Linked DNA regions of Homo sapiens: region 2 is linked to region 1. The links are contacts of gene promoters, found by promoter capture Hi-C in blood cells and fetal thymus (Javierre and others, 2016). All regions are on one chromosome and are shown on one strand. The core of a region is centred on a gene start or on the middle of the fragment in contact, and the rest is flanking DNA. Distances in the headings are between cores, read along the strand shown. Region 1 holds the start of EFCAB14 (EF-hand calcium binding domain 14). Region 2 overlaps CMPK1 (cytidine/uridine monophosphate kinase 1).

What was found. Contacts are between HindIII fragments. The CHiCAGO score rates a contact against its expected background, and 5 or more counts as called.
Region 2: a contact is called between a fragment that was not itself captured here and the fragment with the promoter of EFCAB14 in region 1, in 1 of 17 cell types (erythroblasts). The highest score is 6.2, in erythroblasts.

What each region holds. Positions count from the first base shown.
Region 1 is chr1:46,717,558-46,720,974 of GRCh38, reverse strand. It overlaps EFCAB14 (EF-hand calcium binding domain 14), which reads left to right and starts at 1,861. Exons shown (of 11, transcript NM_014774.3): 1 at 1,861-3,072. The coding sequence starts at 2,888. RefSeq lists silencers at 1,637-1,686, 2,007-2,056. The HindIII fragment of the contact is 11,051 bases long and covers 1-3,381 here.
Region 2 is chr1:47,337,183-47,340,599 of GRCh38, reverse strand. The region is part of intron 1 of CMPK1 (cytidine/uridine monophosphate kinase 1); the gene reads right to left. Among named protein-coding and RNA genes, the nearest start is that of CMPK1, 5.1 kb to the right of the region's middle. The HindIII fragment of the contact is 166 bases long and covers 1,597-1,762 here.

The DNA of each region.
Region 1 (3,417 bases), core at 612-3,111:
CTCAAAGCACTTTGCTTTAAATTCCATTTATATCTGATGACTTCCCAATTGATATTTCAGGCCCCAACCTGTGCCCAGAGAACTCTCAATGGGTATACCAAACAGCCTCCATTTGAATATTGAATTGGCTTGTCAAACTTGTCCCAAACTTGCTCTACCCCATCTCAATAAATAACAATTCCTTGCTTCCAGTGTTTCCACCGCCAAACCCTCTCTTCTCTTCACACCTTTCATCTAATCTATCAGCAAAAATTGTCAGCTCTGTCTTCAAGAAACATCCAGAATGCTCTCCATCTCTGCTACTGCCTCTCTAATCTATCAGCATCATCTCTAGCTGGACTGTAACAAACTGCTCTCCTGTGTTCCTCACTCTCCCCCCACTTTTTTCTACAAAGTAGCCAGAGTAATTTTTTCCTTTATTTTATTTTATTTTATTTATTTATTTATTTATTTATTTATTTATTTATTTATTTATTTATTTATTTTTGAGACGGAGTCTCGCTCTGTTGCCAGACTGAAGTGCAGTGGTGCAATCTCGGCTTGTTGCAACCTCCGCCTCCCGGTTTCAAGCCATTCTCTTGCCTCAGCCTCCCAAGTAGCTGGGATTACAAGCGCGCACCACCACGCCCAGGTAATTTTTGTATTTTTAATAGAGACAAGGTTTCACCATATTGGCCAGGATGGTCTCCATCTCCTGACCTTGTGATCCGCCCACCTCAGCCTCCCAAAATGCTGGGATTACAGGCGTGAGCCATCGCGCTGGCCCAGAGTGAATTTTTTTTTTTTTTTTTTTTTTTACGGAAAAGCCAGAGTATGCTACCTCTCAGCTTAAAGCCCCCAGTGCTTTCCCAAAGTCCTTTCAGTGATCCATAAGGCCCTAAAGCCCTGGCCTCTGATGCTTCTCTGACCTCATTTCCTATCACTCTGCTCCTTGCTCTTCTGGTCCAGCCACAACAGGTCTTCCTGGTCACTCCTTCCTGCAGCCACTGCACAGCTCATTCCCTCACCTCTCCTCCGATAAGCTGACTAAATGTTCCCTTTTCACAGAGGCACTCCCCATCACCTGACCGTGTTTCAATTTTCATCATAACACTTATCACCTCCTGACATTTAATATGTTTGCCTATTGTTGCTCTCCTCCCTCTAGAGTATAAATAAACTGCAGGAATAGATTGGCAGATAAGATACACGATGCTCAGTTAAACTTGCATTTCACATACACAATGAATAATTTTTTAGTGTGAGGATGTCCCAGATGTTGCATGGGATGTCTTAATGCTAAAAAATTGTTTGCTGTTTCTCTGAAATTCAAACTTTACTGGGTGTCCTACATTTTTATTTGCTAAATCTGGCAACACTATACAGGAAGACAAGGACCCTGGTTATTTTGTTCATGGCTGTATCCCCAGCGCTAGAACAGCTCCTGACACGTAGTAAGTAAGCTCTCAATAAATATTTATTGACTGAATGAATGTGTTAATTAATCTGAAACGCGCCTAAACTTTTAACAGCCTGTGTGAGAGTCAGAGAGGCGGAGCCTTCAGACTTGGTTAGTCCAGGGGGCGTGGGCGGCTGATGAACTTTCGAAGTAGGTCGAGCAGCCGGGCGCTTTGCCTGCCCCGCCCGCGCTCCGCAGGATGCAGGACTCCACCCGGCTCAGGTTCGCAGCAGGTCCCGGAAGCCCTCCTGGGGGCGGGGCCACCCTAATCGGCAGGTGGGACCCAGCCCCAGCCGGGGCAGGGCCCCTTTAACGCCCCACCTCTCCGCCACGACTTTCGCCCCGGCGTGACGTCACCCCAGCGGGCGACCAATGGGAGTGCGGCTTACTGGCAGGCGGCGCAGGCGGCCGCTGCCAAAGGGGAAGTGATCTGGGGCTGGAGCGATGGCCCGGGGCTGGAGCTCGCGGCCGCCGCCGCCGCAGCCGCCGCCACCAACGCCAACAACAACGTGTCGGGAGCAGCCGCGGCCGAAGCCGGAGCAGGGGCCGGAGTCGCGGCTGGAGTGGGGCCTGCGCGTGTGAGTGGCCGAGAGTTGCCCGTGCCGGAGACCTCAAACTCCGGGCGGGAGCGCTTTCGGTCGGCCGAGCCGCCGTCGCCCGCGGCACCGTGTCCCCAAGGCCCAGACAGCGGGGCGGGGGTCTATCAGGCGCGGGACTGGCTTCTCTCAGGCCGACCCTTCTAGCCGGGCTCCGGATCTTCCTCGGCCTCGGGCCCCCTTCACGTTCAGGACGGAGGCCGGAGAACGGTGATCATCACACACCCCAGCCGGCTTCCTGGCCAGGGCATTTTCTCTGCGGCCAAGCAGTGTTGGGATTGTAGCTGCTGGGAGCCCCCTCCTGCCGCCACCTCTCCTGCAAGGAAGGGACTGACGCGTTCCCACTTTCTTACTCTGCACCTCCCCACTCTCTTCCCATTCAAGAACGAGTTTCTCTTCCCTCTCCATTGGAAATCTTGCTCCGGAGGTCCGAAACACGTATTTTAAGCGTGCCCTTCCTCACCTCCTGGAGCACCCTTAGAAGTATTGCCTACTTATCCGGGCTGAGAATCCTTCATTTTTGACCTGGCTTTTTTTTCGCCCTTTGGGAGATAAAGGTCCCTCTCCACCCTCTACTAACACTCTGCACCCAAGGCCTTATCCTTTGGGGTCACCAGCTCCTTGGCCATTTCTATGTGATTTCCCCCACCCATCTGAGTTCCAGTTTCCTCTGGGCTCCAATCTCCAGTCCCTGGCGGATCTGGTCAGTCCCACCCCTAGGTGGGAGTGACCAGGGGGCTCTGGCCCAGGATTCCCAACCCTGGAAGGCAGCTCCAAGGCAGGAAGAGAATTGGGCATCGGGTACGAACCTGGCAGCTCAGGAGTCGGGGCTCCACTCACCCCACACAAAAAGATGAAAAAGCGCAAAGAGCTCAATGCATTGATTGGTTTGGCTGGGGACAGCCGGAGAAAGAAGCCCAAGAAAGGCCCAAGCAGTCACCGCCTGCTTCGCACTGAGCCTCCCGACTCAGACTCTGAGTCCAGCTCCGAAGAGGAAGAGGAATTCGGTGTGGTTGGAAATCGCTCTCGCTTTGCCAAGTGAGTAGTGGTGAAAGGTGGAATGGGAAGAAGGCATCTCCTTGCACTACCAAGGGGCCACATTGACAGGAAGGAGAAAGGAAGTCCTTAGGAAGAAAAAAGGGTGTAGGCCTTGGAAGTCAAAGAGGGAAAAACGGTTTTAGGGAGAAGGTAAGTTCAGATCCTGAATGAAGAATAAGTTAGAGATCTGTCTTTAGGTGTAGAAAGAAAAGCTCCAAATCTGAGGTGGAAATGTGGACTTGGAGAATGTGCCAAGAGCCCAGGGAGTCCTAAAGAAGCAAAGAATGGAGACAGAGGAGCAGAGAAGCTTTGGGGACTAGACTTTTTAAAACAGTGTAGAACAAA
Region 2 (3,417 bases), core at 430-2,929, 620 kb before region 1:
TTAATATCCAGTGGATTTTCCTATCTAGTTTCTTCTGAATGCTGCTCTGTTTGAGAATTTGTAATGAGGAGCTTGGAAATCTGCTCAGCAGATTTTCACAACCATATCATTGATTCATTCATTGAGAGTAAACAAAAGTGTTACATGAGAAATCTGAGGAAGACAGGCTGGGTACGCTGGCTTACGATGCAATCCCAGCACTTTGGAGACTGAGGTGGGAGGATCGTTTGAATCCAGGAGTTTGAGACTAGCCTGTGCAACATAGGGAGACCCCATTTCTCTTTTTTTTTTTTTTGAGACGGAGTCTTGCTCTGGGGAGACCCCATTTCTACAAAATAAAAAAAATTAGCTGGGCATGGTGGCATGCACCTGTAGACCTAGCAACTTGGGAGGCTGAGGTGGAAAGATCAGTTGAGCCTGGGAGGTGGAGGCTGCAGTGAGAATGAGCCACGATTGTGCCACTGCACTGCAGCCTGGGCAACAGAGGGAGAGCTCATCTCAAATAAATAAATAAATAAATAGGAAAGAAAGGGAAAGGGGAGGGGAGGGGAGGGGAGGGGAGGGAAGGGAAGGGGAGGGGAGGGAAGAGGGCAGCCGGATGCGGTGGCTCACGCTTGTAATTCCAGCACTTTGGGAGGCTGAGGCAGGCGGATCACCTGAAGTCAGGAGTTTGAGACCAGCCTGGCCATTATGGTGAAACCCCATCTCTACTAAAAATACAAAAATTAGCCACGCGTTGTGGTGGGTGCCTGTAATTGCAGCTACTCAGGAGGCTGAGGGAGGAGAATCGCTTGAACCCGGGAAGCGGAGGCTGCGGTGAGCCGAGATCATGCCACTGCACTCCCGTCTGGGCGACAGAGTAAGGCTCTGTCTTAAAAAAAAAAAAAAAAAAAAAAAAGGAAAGGAAGAAAGAAAAAGAAATCAGAGGAAGACATTCAAACACTTCTGGTCCTTAAAATGGGAGAGCCAACTGCCACTGGAGCGCCCTCTGGGGATCGAATTTTTAAAAATTTTACATCTTCAGGACAAACAATAAACTCTATGAATCCAACGTATTCAACTTATAATTCAATAAGTGCTTAATAAGCAGTTACTATGTGTCAGGCACAATGTTCAACACTGGGGACACAAAGATAAATGAAATCAAGTTTCTGATTTATATATGCTTAAAGTCAATTATCATCCAAAACTTTTTCTAAGTGCAGTAAGTAGGATGGCCAGGCAAAGTAAGAGTTACCCACACAGGCCCTGGAGGAAGTTGACACAGATGATAAAATGCTTCTTGGGTGAGGCCAGGCGCAAAGGCTCATGCCTGTAATCTCAGTACTTTAGGAAGCTGAGGCAGGTGGATCACCTGAGGTCAGAAGTTCGAGACCAGCCTGGCCAACATGGCATTCATGGTGGCATGTGTCTGTAGTCCCAGCTACTTGGGAGGCTGAGGCAGGAGAATCTCTTGAACCCAGGAGGCGGAGGTTGCAGTGAGCTGAGGTCACACCACTGTACTTCAGCCTGGGCAACAGAGTGAGACCCTCTCTCAAAAAAAAAAAAAAAAGTTTTCTGGGTGCTACAGAAAGCAATTTGGCATGGTTATAAGCTTTAGTCATAATTTGTTTATGTAAGCAAAATGTTCACAATCTTTAAAAGAGAGGTTTAAATATTTCTTCCAACTAATGCATGTAAAATGGTGGTTATTTTCAAATATAAATTTAGGTTACATTGACATAATTTCATTTGGGCCAAAACAACAAATATAAATAAAGCTTAATTTTAAAAATTCAAGAATGACACAGTATTCCCATCATGATTTTATAACTAAATTATTGCACAATAATTCCATTCTGGAAACTTAACTCTAAGTATCACACTGATTTAGAAAATAGCTCATTTTCAAAAACAAATTCAGTATTAGAGGATACAGATTTACAAACAATTAGAAAATAAAACAAATTCTCCAAGTCTGGGTATTTGGTAAAAAAAAAAGAAAAGAAGAAAAAGAAAGAACAGGAAGGAGGGAGGGAGGGAAGGAGAGAGGGAGGGAGGGAAGGAGAGAGGGAGGGAGGGAAGGAGAGAGGGAGGGAGGGAGGGAAGGAAGGAAGGAAGGAGAAAAGCAAACAAAACTGAAAAACATCAGTACAAATAAATGTGCAAAATCAATCCCAAAACCTCCCTCCAATCTTTCCTTCCCAGTACAGAACACTCTCAGAAGACACTGTATCAGATTTGCCTTTACCTTCTCTAGGTCTCCAGGAGCAATTTGCAGAGCAGAATTCACCTCCAGAGAAAAAATACCAGCTTCCCTCTAACAATACCCACTTCACTAATTTCAGTGCCTTAGAGAGCAAGATATCCCTAAGGGTTTTTGGTTTTCTCTTTTTCTTCTCTTCCTGTCAACTGAAGATTCTGTAGCTAGGACTCAAATATGTACTTCTGGCAGCCTGAGTTGGAAATCAACATACTAAAGTAACAATTTCAGGTGCCCTGTGAGCTGCATTAGCTTCAGCCAGATTAATTGGAGAATTTACCGTGGATTTATGTAATTTTTTTCCTACAGGAAAAAAACCTCCAAAACTTACATTATTTTGGAATTTAGTTTATAATTGCCTGTATAAAAAAATATTGAGTCAAAATAAAGAGATTCACAAAGGAAAAAAACAACATACCGCTGACTTCACTAACAATAGATATTCCAGGCCGGGCACAGTGGCTCACACCTGTAATCCCAGCACTTTGGGAGGCCAAGGTGGGTGGATCACGAGGTCAGGAGTTCGAGACCAGCCTGGCCAACATAGTGAAACCCCGTCTCTACTAAAAATACAAAAATTAGCCGGGCATGGTGGCGCGCACCTGTAGTCCAAGCTACTCGGGAGGCTGAGGCAGAGAATCGCTTGAATCCAGAAGATGGAGGCTGCAGCGAGCCAAGATTGCCCCACTGCACACCAGCCTGGCCGACAGCGTGACACTTCGTCTCAAAAAAAAAAAAAAAATAGATATTCCAGTGTCTGTCTAGCCAGCTAGGGAATAGCAATTGCTAAATTATAAACTATTTGGAATTAGTTGATTGACAGCTTAATAAAGTTTATGGCAACTAGACTCAAGAGAATACTTTTCATTAAAGAAGATAACAGTTTAAGGTCAAATAATTGTTGAAATCTTAATAATATAATACATTACAGAACATATCTCATCATGGAATCTTGTAACTGATAATTAACAAGTTTAAAATATTATTTGCCATTACTGAACAGAATAAAGAATAATTGCAGAATGTGTAGATTATTTCATTTATGTATTTATTTATTTATTTATTTTATTTTTTTGAGATGGAATCTCGCTATGTCACCCAGGCTGCACTGCAGTGGCGTGATCTTGGCTCACTGCAAGCTCCGCCTCCCCGGTTCATGCCATTCTCCTGCCTCA